Regions from separate parts of the Homo sapiens genome. Here region 2 is linked to region 1. The links are contacts of gene promoters, found by promoter capture Hi-C in blood cells and fetal thymus (Javierre and others, 2016). All regions are on one chromosome and are shown on one strand. The core of a region is centred on a gene start or on the middle of the fragment in contact, and the rest is flanking DNA. Distances in the headings are between cores, read along the strand shown. Region 1 holds the start of DENND2C (DENN domain containing 2C). Region 2 overlaps HIPK1 (homeodomain interacting protein kinase 1).

Region 1 (7,163 bases), core at 2,317-4,816:
CCTTCTGAGTATAGGGTCTGCTAACTTGAATACCGAAAAAGTAGTTGGGAAACACATGTAGAAAAATTGTTCCACGAATCATATGCAGTTACTATGGACAGGGACTAGAAGGGATTATTCTATCTCTTTGCCTGTGCCTTTTGGGCCAGGGAAGTAAAATACACTTGATTTCTCAGCAGACTGTGAACACTGAGGCACTAGATGGGTGCTTTTAATGGTCTATTATTATTATTCTTTTGTCAGTGGCTAACATAAGGAAGGAATTTTTGTAAAGAATGCAATTATTGTCTATACCAGGGTGAAAAGAGACAACAATCATTCTGCCATCCTTTTCTCTTATAGGAGAAAGTAAAGTTTCTGGGCGACAATTACCTTGAGGAAGGCCCTGCTGGAAATGATATCCGGAGGACAAATGTAGCCCAAATCCGCATGGCCTATCGCTATGAAACCTGGTGTTATGAACTCAATTTAATTGCTGAGGGTCTTAAATCAACAGAATAAAAAAAAGTAAACCAAATAATAATATGAGTGAGAATTTCATTGTAGAGTTTGAATAATAATAGTTACCTGTTATTGAGTCCCTACTATAAACCAAGGAAAGTATTAGATGTTCCACTGAAATTATTTCATTTAATCCTTCTCACAACCTTTATAAAGTAGATATTATTATCTCCATTTTGGGGGAAATTAGTACACTAAAGCTAATAAGGTTAATAACCTGCACAAGGATATACCTGGTGAAGGGTAGCAGTGGGAACGTGGGTTTCTCTGACTGCAGTCTCTATGACTTTCAGGCAAAATATCTATTAAAGCTGGGCAAAAATACAAGCAAATGACTTTTTGGGAGATAGGCTTCTGGTTTATAGCATGAAATTTGCTTAAGGCACTTAGAACCACTAAAAAGTTCTTTGACAAGGTATAAGTGAATAGTGGCTTTTTTAGACAAAACCAGAGGGCGTACCTCAATATAGAAAATCAGTATTTATGAGTTATTATATTGAGGGAGAATTTATCTTACAAAAGGATTCTTAGCTTTAAGGATGTAATTGACAATAAGATTATAGTGAGCTAAACTGGTACATTTTAAATGATTTTGCTTACCAAAGTAAAATGTACATATAACTTTTAAGAAGCATGCCTATTACTTAAGGTCAGGTGAAATTCCAAATGGGCAGATGATACTTCCACACATACAACTGTGTTGGCATCTAGTGGCTGGGCTGACATTTCATTCAACTTATTCAATAAACAATTATTGATCAAATAGCTAAATTATCAGGTACTATTCTAAACACCAAAGGTATACAGAATAAGATTTCATTCCTATCCTCTAGTTGTCCTCAGCATGAAGTTATAGTGTGGCTACAAGTAAAAAATAGAATTTTGTGAAATGTCTTCAAAAGTAATGAACTTTTTTCTTTTTTTTGAGACAGGGTCTTGCTCTGTCACCCAGGCTGGAGTGCAGTGCAGTGGTGTAATCACAGTTCACCGCGGCCTCGGCCTCCCAGGCTCAGGTGATCCTCTTACCTCAGACTTCCGAGTAGCCAGGACTACAGGCACATGCCACCACACCCAGCTACTTTTTTGAACCTTTTGTAGAGACGCGGTTTCACCATGTCACCCCAGCTGGTCTCAAACTCCTATGCTCAAGCGATCCATGTGCCTTGGCCTCCCAAAGTACTGGGATTACAGGCGTGAGCCACTGTGCCCAGCCTGAACTTTCAAATGGAAAAAAAATTGAAAGCAAATTTCTGCACGTTTCTATATTCTACACATGCAGCCATAAGCATAGGTGTAACCCTGATGGCATGTTTGTACTAGCTCTGGTGTAAGAATCTCTTCCTGATTTCTGAAGTTGAAGTTTTGTTTGTTGAGTATTTGTGAACCCTTTAAAGAACCAGATTTTATTTTACCTTGGCCTCCTCATCATCAAAATAGTACAAATTGCTACATTAAACACTGTATTCTCAGACTTCAAAGGGCATTAACTACCATTATGTATATCTCCATCTTACCCATGAGAGGGCAGTAGAATACATACATGTGAATTCATTTATTAATCTATAAATTTGGTTTCATACGTGATACTTGGAATTCAACCTGCCTTATTTTGCCAAATAATCTTCCTGAATGCAGGGGTCAAAAAATACATTTCTGGGCTGGGTGCAGTGGCTCATGTCTGTAATCCCAGCACTTTGGGAGGCTGAGGCAGGAGGACTGCTTGAGCTCGGGAGTTGGAGACCAGCCTGGGCAACATAGCGAGACCCTGTCTCTACAAAAAAATAAAAATAAAAATATTAGCCGGGGGTGGTGGTGCATGCTTATAATACTAGCTGCTTGGGAGGCCGAGGTGGGACGATTCTTTGAGCCTAGGAAGTTGAGACTTCAAGTGAGCTATGATTGGGCCACCGCACTCCAGTGTGAGTGACACAAAGAGACCCTGTCTCAATAAATAAATAGATAGACACATTATATAAGAATTTTTTTTTTTTTGGTGGGGGAAGCCCATAATGATCAGTGTGCAAAATTTACTACAAACAATATCCACATTTATTTCCTCATTGGGACATGATTTTTTTTAAGTATGTCATTACTTTTTTTTCCCCCATCATAGAATGTAATTTCTGTTTTACTGTCTACAGGTGATAGTTTCACAACGGTTTGGGATATGCTACCTTTATTGTTTGGGTTAAGTTTGCTTGTGACAGTCATCCGTGATACGTAACTAAACACCTCTCTTTCTGGTAGTCTTCTATTTTGGTACCTCTGTGTGAACAAATGTAGGAAGAGTTTGGTCACCAGACCCAAGAGGCTCTGGCTGGGTGGGGTGGGGTGGGGTGGGGCGGGGCGAGGCGGGGTGGGGTGGTTAGCGAGTGCCTGGGAAACAGGCTCAACTGATCCTTGTCCCGCAGCCTCGGTGAAACTGGGTTACAGCTTGCAGTAGGCACAACACCACGCACATACCTAAGCAAGAGCGTGTTGCAGGCGGAGCGCTTAGGCATGTGTGTCTCAACAGGGCGTGGGGGCTGACCTCACGCACTGGGAGTATCAAGGCACCCCCGTTCTGAGATTCCAAGCCTGAGGTGCCGCGAGAGTTATTTGCTTCTCTTGACGTTTCAAGTTGGCACCGTAGTGCAATTGTTTGCTCACTGAGGTCAGCCTAGGAAACAGTGCTTGGATTCCCTGATTAAGCCAGGCTTTATCTTGTTGAGTAGTTGTGAAGAGTAAACCTTCACATGAAGCATAGGGCCGTCTCCGTGGGGCCGATGCGACGGCAGGCGAAGGCGATGGAGCTCTGGCTCGAGGGCTTGGCCGGACGACGGTGACACTGGTCGCCCGCCTGCTGGAACTGCAGTGACCGAGGTCCTGGCAAGGTTCTGGCCATACAGCGGACTTGAGGCGTGGTGGTTCCCCTCACCGCCGGCCGGGGCGGTGTCGGAGGCGGGCATAGCGTGAGGGGTGGGAATAGGAGCCAATAAGAACTGAGCCTTGCCAGGGAGGGCGGGGCTAGGGGGTGGGGCTGCAGCCGGGACGGGGCCTTCGGCAGGGCCTGCGGGGGCGGGACGGAGCGGACCCGAGTGATACCCGGGAGACTAGCTTGGCCACAGGAGACAACGTTGAGGTACAGACAGGTAAGAGTCGGGGTGATTCGGCGCGGGGTTTTAAGCCGCAGGGGCTTCGGACTCTCGGGGCTGTCGGCATCACCCTTCTGGGCGTCGGGTGCGGGGCTGTGGCGCCGCGGCGTAGTCCTCGGACGGTGCGAGCCGAGCTGGCGGAGGTGGTGTCTCCGCGCCCCGCTGTCTCGGCACCTCCTCCGTCCGGAGGAGCAACCGGTTGTTGGGCCCAGCTTTGGGACGTCCTCTCGTGGCCGCACGGGTTGTGGCGGAGCCTGGCTGAAGACCTCCTCGCTACCTCAGGGGCTTGGGGACCCCTAGGCTGGGCGCCGCTCTCTGCTGGGGAAGAGGGAGGGAGCGCCCGGCAGCCTGGGGAAACGCGGGCTTTCTCCAAAATTAGCCAGTGAGCTTGAACTTCGACATGCTGGGACGATGCACTTCCAAACAATATTTTGCTTTTTTTGGTGTTTTGATTCTTAACAGCATCTAATACGCACAATACCGAAAGTTGTCAAGTAGAATTTTAATTTAAAAGTCTGACAGTGGAACACCTAAGAGCTTTTGAGTAACTAGAGCTGTATAGCAGCTGATGATTAGATTATGAGTCAAAAGGCTCAAGTCTAGGGCCAGAACCCGCGGAACCAGATGTGATACCTCGGCCAAATTAACTTCCTGGGCCTCTCTTTCCGTAACTGTGAAACTGGCAAGTTCATGCCTATGGGTATTCTCAGGGTCAAATCAGATGAGTGACAGTATTCTACAAATGTCAGATATTTGAACGTGCGTGTGGAGCGTGTATATTCTGTGAAGCAACTACTACTTGCCTGGTACATAGTAGGCACTTTACAAACGTTTACCCTAAAGCTAGTGATTCTTCTGCAGTGTTTTAGATAAAGTGATAGATCCTTGCTTACTGTGTAAATAAGTTGTTTAAACTTTTCCCACAAAGTGACCCCCATTGTTTGAGTGTGTCCTATTTTTAAATGATTGATGAAATTTTCTAGAATAGCACAGTGGTGTTATCTATACACTGTTGCTGAATCATTTACCGCGAAGTCTGTAGCAATCAAATAATCTACTTCTTTGTCTTAGCTAAATAGTTGTAGTTTAAGATACCTGCTAAAGTAAGCTGGGAATATTGTTCCAAATCAAGACTTTAATTTGTTTTTGTGAATTGACGGGCTGCTTATAGGAAGATTTAAATCTTCCAAAATATTGTTAATATATAGCCATATTTTTTCATACAGCCTTTATTATAGACGTTTTTGTTCTTTACTATGGATATGTGTGCGAGGGATTTTAGCGGGGAGATGGGAAATAAAAAAGAAAATGGCAGTTTTGTAACCTGTAGGCTTTTGCTGGGGATACTTGTAGGCCTGTTCTGAGTTTGCCAGGCAGAAACCAGGAAATGTAGTAATTATGTGTCTTGGTCTTTCATTAGTTGGGGTGTGTGTGTGTGTGTGTGTGTGTGTGTGTGTGTTGAATGTGGCAGTACGTTTTTTAAATGCAGCAATAAAGGAAGAATATTTATTTTTCTTAATGACAATAAGCAGTTTTCTAAAGCTGGAAATTATATTACTTTTAAATGGTCTGTAGTGAGTCTTAAGTTATAGGCAAGAATTTTAGACCACTGGATACCAAGATCAAATTAAATGAAGTAGTAGAGGGAAAGTTACTAGTGAATGTAATTTTTGTGTGTGTTGCTTTAGAAGTTTTACTTAAACATGTTTCAGCAATTCAGTGGAGGATGGGTCTTTTGAAGCTACTTTAAAACATGAGTTTTAAACGTACTCCATGTATAAATTTTTCTGTGATTTACAATTTCTTGATCTTGGAGGTCTGAAACCTTACATTCACATTGTTTTTTGAGGGCCTACTACACAATAGGCACAAGATTATATTTATGTAAGAGCAGTATGTAATTCCTGTCATCTAGGAGATTCCATTCTACCAAGTGGGCTAAAATAAGTACTGAAAAAACAAAAGCTGTTTTTAAAGCGGATGGTAACAATAACAACATCAGCTATCATTCATTGGTACCTAGTCTGTGCCAGGCAGTATTCTAAATTCTTTACATGTATTAGCTTACTTAATCCTCACAACAGCACCATGAGGGATGTTATTATGATTATCTCATTAAGAGGCATAGAGAGGTTGAGTAACTTGCCCATGATTAGACAACCTAGATAGCAAAAGTAGGATTCAAATCAGTCATTCTCCAAGGACCTGATTGTAACCTTTGCGCTATACTGAGTTTCAAATTCTGTGAGTGAGATACAAATGACATCTAATAGGTATTTTAAAAAGAGGTCTATAAAAAACTATTTCAAAAAGAAGGAAAGAAAGAGGAAAAAATAAACTGGTATTGCAATACCAGTTTTATTGCAATTAAAACGATGTAATTATAGTTTATCTGTGGGAACCCTTTTTTTGTTATTGTTGCCAGTGAATGACATGGGGATGATTCTAAGCTCTCAGTCCCTCAGTAACAACAGTTATGGCATTATCTTAACAATATGAGGTGCTTATTTTTCATTAAAAAGCACCTCATAACTTCTTTCATTAAGAAGTTAAAAATATCTGTTCTCAGACTGTAAATTAAGTATTAGATTCAAGAAGAGAAAATGCTTCCCTGTCTTTAAGAAGCTTATAACCCAACATGTAAATAAGGCTCTACAATTTCAGCATGATAAGAGCTGTAAAGAAGTATAGATTTAGGTACGTTTGAAGAGTTGCAAGAAAAAGAAAGAAGTATAGATAGAATTTAACCACTGATGAGGAAAAATCATTCTGCGTGTGGTAGGGAGGACGATTAGAGAGAAGATATTAAATTTGGCTTTGAAGGATGAATAGGAGTTTGCTGAAATTGGGTCAGGAAACAGGAGATATGAATGAAAACCAGGGATAAGTGTGCAAGTATATGGTATGTTTGAGGAATGTGTTGTAGTCCATTGTACTGAAGGCCAGGGTGTGTAGAAATGGGTGGTTTGGCTAAAGGAGATGGTGCCTGGAAATAAGATGAAAAAATAAAATTGCAAAGCTTCCTTGCTGATTGCATTAGGATCACTAAAATTGCTAGGTAATGTGGTATTTCACTTCCCTTCATTTGGAACAATGAAATGAGTAATTAGTTCAGTTTGGCAGAATGTTTCACTAAAAAATATGGTGTTAAAGGTACTTTTAATACTTTGAAGTACAAGATATAAGATAACATTACAGACTTAGGTAAGTAAAAAGTTAAGATTTAGGGCCAGGCGTGGTGGCTCATGCCTGTAATCCCAGCACTCTGGGAGGCCAAGGCAGGTGGATCAAGAGGTCAGGAGATCGGGAGCATCCTGGTCAACATGGCGAAACCCCATCTCTACTAAAATACAAAAATTATACGGGTGTGGTGGCGTGTGCCTGTAATCCCAGCTACTTGGGAGGCTGAGGCAGGAGAATCATTTGAACCAGGGAGTCAGAGGTTGCGGTGAGCTGAGGTCGTGCACCTGCACTCCAGCCTGGCAACAGAGTGAGACTGTCTTTAAAAAAAAAAGTTATGATTCAGAA
Region 2 (7,163 bases), core at 3,426-5,925, 720 kb after region 1:
CATCCCAGGAACAGCTCAGCTATCACACAGCCCAGTGACCACATATCAATAGCTTCACAAAATGGTAACCCAAGAATAATTTCAGGAGCTCTAGCAAAAACAAAAAATATCAGATTAAAAAAAAAAAAACATTATTTGGGAAAATTAACTACATGACTAAGTCCTGTTTTAGTATTAGCTAAAGGAACATTTATTCAATGAAATGGAAAAAAAATCTTTGGTATACAATCCATCATCTGAAGCTCAGGGCCAGATGTGTTTTGGAATTCAGAATATTTTGAATTTCAGAAAGGTAATGCAGAACACAAAGTACACATTATATAATAATCCCAGTGGAGTTCAGGGCAGTGCACTATAATCAAACACATTAATATTTCTGCAACAAAACATGGAACAGTCATACTAAGTTGGCTAAATAAAGACTTCAAATAGCTTAACAATGGTTCAAGTCAGGTCTTGCCAATTAAATGAATTTATACCAAACTTAAAGAAAAATTTTCATTTATGAGAGCTTTCTGAATTTTGCAATCACAGATAAGGGATAATAGATTTTTTTTATTATTATTCCTAGCACCATTTCAATCATAAAAAAAAAAAATCAATTAAAAGGCCTGGTCAACTGGGCACAGTGGCTCATGCCTGTAATCCCAGCACTTTGGGAAGCCGAAGCGGGTGGATCACCTGAGGTCAGAAGTTCAAGACCAGCTTGGCCAATATGGTGAAACCCCAAATCTACTAAAAATACAAAAATGAGTCAGGTGTGGTGGTGGGCGCCTGTAATCCCAGCTACTCAGGAGGTTGAGACAAAAGAATCGCTTGAACCCAGGAGGTAGAGGTTGCAGTAAGCCAAGATCACACCACTACACTCCAGCCTAGGAGACCCAAGACAGTCCAAAAAAAAAAAAAAAAAGCCCTGGTCAATAAATAACCCTTCATGACAGAAATGCCTTCTGGAAAAAAAAAAAAGAAAAAGAAATGCCTTCTGAAGAGACATGGTGTTGACAGCACACTCTCTAGAGCCAGCCTGTCAGGGTCTGAATCCTAGTTCCATCATTTAATAGCTGCAGGTATATTACTTGATCTCTCTGTGCCTCAGGTTCCTCATCTATAAAATGGAGACAGTAAGAGTTCCCACCACATAGAGTTGTTGTGAAGCTTAAATAAATATATGAAAGCTTTTAGACCAGTGCATGGCACATGGTAAATACTAGTAGGTGTTAGATATAATAACAGTATTATGTTACCATTATTTTAAAACTTTGAACTCTTAGTGTGCTTTTTAGAAATATTCATTAACAGTCCAAGTGAGAAATAAAATGCTAGGGAACTTTAAAGAGATGACTAAGGTAATCCATAACTCAGACGTTTATATATACGAACACATCTAAAATAGAATTATTATCCCCATTACAGAAGAAGAAACTGAGAAAAAGAAAGATTAAGTTATTGGCCTAGAGTCACAGTCAAATAAGTGGCAGAGCTAGGATTTGAATCCCTGCAATCTGGCTCCAGAATTGAGTATATTATATATTACACTGTTTCTCAATAAGTAAAAGTACATACTCATCTATGTAAATTTATATTTGACATGGTGGAATACAAGGGCAATTGTCAAACTATGACTAATTAGGCAATAAGTGGGTTCAAAAAGAAAATAATAGGTAACACTAATAGCAATAATAATAAATGACACATAAATATTGCCTACTATGTGCCATGCACTGTTCTAAGTTCTTTATAAATGTTGAGTCACTTAATCCTTACAACAATCCTATCAAAGTATTATTATGATGTCATCAATTCTAAGATACACATCTTTTTACATGTTAGCACCTCTGAAATTAAGAAGATTCTTACAAATGATGGTATATTTTAGTTTAATGGCAGCGCTTTTCCTTTTTTAAGTGGTACAAAAATAATGTATCTTATAATCAATGGCATGTTAGATTCTATGCAATAAAAGTATTACCTCCATTTTACAGATGAAGAAACTGGCACTAAGAGGTTAAAGTAACTTGCCCAAGGCTACATAACTACTAAAAGATGGTGCCCTTGGCCAGCGCAGTGGCTCACACCTGTAATCCCAGCACTTTGGGAAGCCAAGGTGAGTGGATTGCTTGAGGTCACGAGTTCGAGAACAGCCTGGTCAACACGGTGAAACTCCATCTCTACTAAAAATACAAAAATTAGCTGGGCATGGTGGCGGGCAGCTGTAATCCCAACTACTCAGAGGCTGAGGCAAGAGAATTACTTAAACTTGGGAGGCATAAGTTGCAATGAGTTGAGATCTGCCACTGCACTCCAGCCTGGGCGACAGAGCGAGACTCCATCTCAACAAAAGAAAAAGGATGGTACCCAAGCTATTTGGATCCAAGATTTCAGCTCTTAGGCACTGGATCATCTTCTCCAAATAATTTCCTTTCTTTCTTACAAGTCATGGAATTATAATCTATAAGGACACTCCAGATCCAGATCCAGATCCAGATTCAGATTCCTCATGTTACAGGAGTTAAATGGAAAACAGATCTTTCCGTGAAGAACCATCTAACTGGCCGTGTCTCCTCACAGAATACCCAGGTTTCTCAAACTACTTTCAAGTGATATGTGCTTATTGTTGTTTTGTGTATATGTGCAGGGGGTTGAGGGAAGGCAAGGATTAAGCAAGGAGAATATAATTTCCCTAAATAAGAATATCCCTCCCCATCTAAGCAAACTAGGCATAGAAGAAAAAAAAAATCCTCCCCTAGTATTTATACATAAATAGTGGCCCTTAGAAAACAGTAAATCTGGGGACTCCACAGGGCCTGAAAGCTTTTCTGATCCTTAAATACAAATAGCAGTCGACCCAGGCCTCTTCGGGCTTACACTTTTTAACAGCTATGGGTGGAACCACCAATATCATCAGTTTTTGTAGTATTTAATTTGAACTGTGGTTTTGTTTACCAAAGAAATAACTGGCCGGGTGCGGTGGCTCATGCCTGTAATACAAGCACTTTGGGAGGCCGAGGAGGCTGGATCACCTGAAGTCAGGAGTTTGAGACCAGCCTGGCCAACATGGTGAAACCCCATCTCTACTAAAAATATAAAAAATCAGCCAGGTGTGGTGGCGGGCACCTGTAATCCCAGCTACTCAGGAGGCTGAGGCAGGAGAATTGCTTGAACCCAGGAGACGGAGGTTGCAGTGAGCTGACACAGTGCCACTGCACTCCAGCCTGGGTGACAGAGTAAGACTCTGTCTCAAAAAAAAAAAAAAAAGAAAAGAAAAGAAGTAACCCTCAAAAGTGATATTCCTGTTGCAGGTGGCTAGAGGCACATATTACTGATGGAATTTCAGAGTTCAGTGAAATCTCAACCATAATGGCATGTTTTCAACACTGCACAAGTTTGACAGGCGCATTAATAAGCTAGTAAGACTACCCAGAAACAACATAAAAGCTTTTCTAAAATTGAAAAGGAACAAAATTTTCTACTCCTAGTGAGCAGAATCATTAATTTCCAAGTTCATGACAATGCCAAAAATAGCTGGCAGGGGGAGCACAACTGGCAATGAGCCAAAATAAAAACTGGGTTTAGAACATTCCAAAGCATCAATTGGAGGGCAGCATATTGATTTTGCTATTCCTACCATACTAGAAAGACATTTTAAAGTCCAAAAGGTAGGTCACAGAGAATGGCCAGGCCACTCTATAACTTTCTTCTTTAAAAGGTAGCGATAACAGGCCAGGCGCGGTGGCTCACGCCTATAATCCTAGCACTGTGGGTGGCCAAGGCACGTGGATGGCCTGAGGTCAGGAGTTCAAGTCCAGCCTGGCCAACATGATGAAACCCAGTCTCTACTAAAAATACAAAAATTAGCTGGGCATGGTGGCAGGCGCCTGTAATCCCAACTACTCCAGAGGCTGAGGCAGGAGAATCGCTTGAACCCGGGGGGCAGAGGTTGCAGTGAGCCAAGATTACGTCAATTCACTCCAGACTGGGCGTAAGAGCGAAACTCCGTCTCAGAAAAAAATAAAAAAGGTAGCAATAATATATGATAACTGTCTCGAGCTTAAAGTTTTCTGGGAAATTAAGGAAAATATCACTTCCACAGCCCCCAAGTCCCATTTAATTAAAAAAAAAAACTGAAGATTAGCTGAAAGTTTTTTCATTTGGTCTCACCCTGCTTTTGGAGTGACAAAAGCAGCTAAGGACTTCCAGCAAAAGCTCAGTCAAAACAGCAACTCTACCGTATCTACCTTATAAAAAGGCAAATAGCAAAAGGAAAAACAAAAAAAGGAAAGCAGTTTAAAAAAAAAAAAAATACGGCCAGAAACGGCGGTTCACACCTATAATCCCAGCACTTTGGGAAGCCAAGGCAGGAGGATCACTTGAGCAGGAGTTTGAGACCAGCCTAGGCAACACAGCAAGACCCAATCTCTACCAAAAAAATTTAAAAAATTAGCCAGGTATGGTGGTGCATGCCTGCAGTTCTAGCTACTCAGGAAGCTGAGGTGGAAGGATCACTTGAGCCCAGGAGGTCAAGGCTGCAGTGAGCCATGATTGCGCCACTGCACTCCAGCCTGAGACCCTGTCTCAAAAACAAACAAAAAAGCAGTAAGGCTGCTTAGTTCACTGAGGGTTTTGTATTATTTGGGCCTATAAATGTTAGACTTACCCAAACTCTACGAAGCAAAAAGACAAGTTATTTTCTACTTTACTGAACAGTAAGGCATCACTAGAGCAGGTTTATCTCTAAGGACTGAATACTTTAAACTGTGAATCCAGATTATAATTATTAGAATTATTTTCATTACATCTTTCCTCTTGGCCTCCTTATTTCTTAATCCCTCAATATAAACTCTACAGACACGTAAAACTCTGGTTCTACCTCATTTGTGTAATAAGGAAACAGAGTTAGATAATTACTCTTCTAGGTCCCTTTCCAGCTGTAACATTCCAACAACTGGGCAGTAAAAAAGGTTATCTACAGAAGCACAGGAAAGTGAAAGAAACTGTTAAAAACTGGCAGTGTTCACTTCAGTAGGAAAATGGCATTAATTGTGCTTTGAACATGGCAAGTCTCCTCTTTGAAGACACATCCCATCCTTAAAAAACAAATACTAAACAGGCTCTGGTTATTACAGCTAAGTGATAGAAACAACAATCCCTGCCTTTTGATTCCCCAACTTCAAACTTCTTTAAGTTGAAAAATTCTTCCAACCAACATTGTTGAGGTTAATTTCACTGGCACCCAGAGCAAGCTAAGGTTAGGATCACTTAACACAAATCACTCTGATTATTTTCATGAACATTTTCGTTTCTTTCTTCCTATCTCAGAGACATCAAACCTACTTACTTACCAATTAGAGAGGTTACATAAAACCTAACTTCCTGCATCAGTGGCTTAGGTGAAACTATATTTTGACTGCCAGAGGAAATTAGATTATTTGTTTGTCTAGGATAAATGGAAGATACGTTTTCCTTCTCTAGACCTTTTCCTTCCGTAAGTAACAAAGTGATTCAGCTTGAAATAAAGGCTGGCTAGTTTGTTCAGTAGGGAAAAACATTCAGCCTGTAAGCATGGCAAACCTTTGTCTCTAAAACTCAAGCCCGAAAGACAGGAGCTTTGCTTGGAGTCTGTGCACATTTACAGTGAGCCAGAGAGTAAAGTATATTATTTCCACTGCCTGAATCATTTAGCCATGCCCAGGGCCAATGGACACAGCAAGTTGGCAAATTTATGTGAGCTGATAATACTGGCATATTATCAGAAAGACAAAGCAAGGTAAACTAAAAAGGTGGGTAAGAGAAGGACTAGCTTTGGAGTCAAAATGCTTCACCAGCCAAACAGATTTCACAGAGGTTTTTTGAAAGACAGAAGGGTGAGGACTTAATGGACTCTAATATGGCAACAAAGCAACATCAAAGAAGCTTAAGAGGACCACTGCGGGTAAAACTAGTGATAAAGAAGGAATGCCTGAGCTGCTGTTCCATCTGCCTTAGGCTCATTATCAAGTATTACTGTGACACAACAGAACACTCATGTTAAATCCTAAACACTGTCAAGCCCTGGGCACTGAACTTCAGTATACAGAGTAATTACTCAGTAATACACAGAATGAACTCCTGTTTTTAAGAGGCAAACTTAGCTCCACTTAAAATTATAGTCAACAACTATATTGCAGTGAATTTAAAGAAAGCTTTGTCGAAGGGTAACTTTGAAGATTTGAAAACCTTAGTTTCTATAAAAAACAAAACCAAAATGAATCAATTGACAGCTTAAATTAAAAGGATAAAAAATACAAAGATCAGCAACCTAACACTGAAAATTATTCAAATGAATTACACATTACAGAAAGCTAAGCAGCCAAATAATTCATTTTATTTTGTATTAACATGCCCCAATTATAACAAAGCCAAATAATTTTTATCTCCTATTGCTCTCCCTTTTTCAATTTAAAAACTACTCTGTTATCACAAGAGAATGCACTTTGTCTTTGACAGGGCAAACAAATAGTTAAAGAACACCTGCAGGCACAGAGTCAAGACAGAAAGGAAGAGCTGATCAGCCCTCTTCCTTCAGCTGTGGTCTGCCTAGTCCCTCCTGAGGACTCAAAATGGGATGCTGCGCTGAATTCTTCAGTGCACCTGTAGAGTATGTTATATATATGTTATGTTGGTGTGGCTGGTGGTGAGACTGCTCAAAGGAGAGCATTAAAAAGCAAATGTAGTTGGAACCTAAATCTCCCAAGGCATAAATAAATAAATGGAGATGACATTCTTAAAGTTAGCCAAGGTTGCCTAGGGCAGCATAAAACCAGAAAACAAAGGCTCTAAGAGTTTATTTACCTTACCTCAAGTAAAAAATACCAGTTTTATAAAACTGTGAAAAGATATAAAGAAATAAGGATGGACTGACTTACTATTAAGCTGTCAATACTACCCAAAGTCATCTACAGATTCATCGCTATCCTTAATAAAAAGCAATTATGGTTTTTGTATAAAATAGAAAAACCCATCCTAAAATTTATATGGACCCTCAAAGACCCCAAATAGCCAAAACAATCTTGAAAAAGAACAAAGTTGGAGGTCTCACACTTCCTGATTTCAAACTTACTACAAAGCTACAATAATCAAAACAATGTGGTACTGGCATAAAGACATATATAGATTAATGGAATAGA

The links. The method cuts DNA at HindIII sites, captures the fragments that hold promoters and counts their contacts. A CHiCAGO score of 5 or more calls a contact.
Region 2: a contact is called between a fragment that was not itself captured here and the fragment with the promoter of DENND2C in region 1, in 1 of 17 cell types (total B cells). The highest score is 6.7, in total B cells.

Annotation. Positions count from the first base shown.
Region 1 is chr1:114,666,452-114,673,614 of GRCh38, reverse strand. DENND2C (DENN domain containing 2C) reads left to right here and starts at 3,566. Exons shown (of 21, transcript NM_001256404.2): 1 at 3,566-3,632. LOC124904354 (a long non-coding RNA gene) reads right to left here and starts at 3,204. Exons shown (of 2, transcript XR_007066465.1): 1 at 2,965-3,204; 2 at 2,661-2,766. It overlaps AMPD1 (adenosine monophosphate deaminase 1), which reads left to right. Exons shown (of 16, transcript NM_000036.3): 16 at 343-517. The coding sequence ends at 501. RefSeq lists an enhancer at 3,193-3,352 and a silencer at 3,473-3,562. The HindIII fragment of the contact is 6,814 bases long and covers 1-6,262 here.
Region 2 is chr1:113,945,693-113,952,855 of GRCh38, reverse strand. It overlaps HIPK1 (homeodomain interacting protein kinase 1), which reads right to left. Exons shown (of 16, transcript NM_198268.3): 3 at 1-90. Among named protein-coding and RNA genes, the nearest start is that of HIPK1-AS1, 20 kb to the right of the region's middle. RefSeq lists a silencer at 863-1,063. The HindIII fragment of the contact is 2,475 bases long and covers 3,438-5,912 here.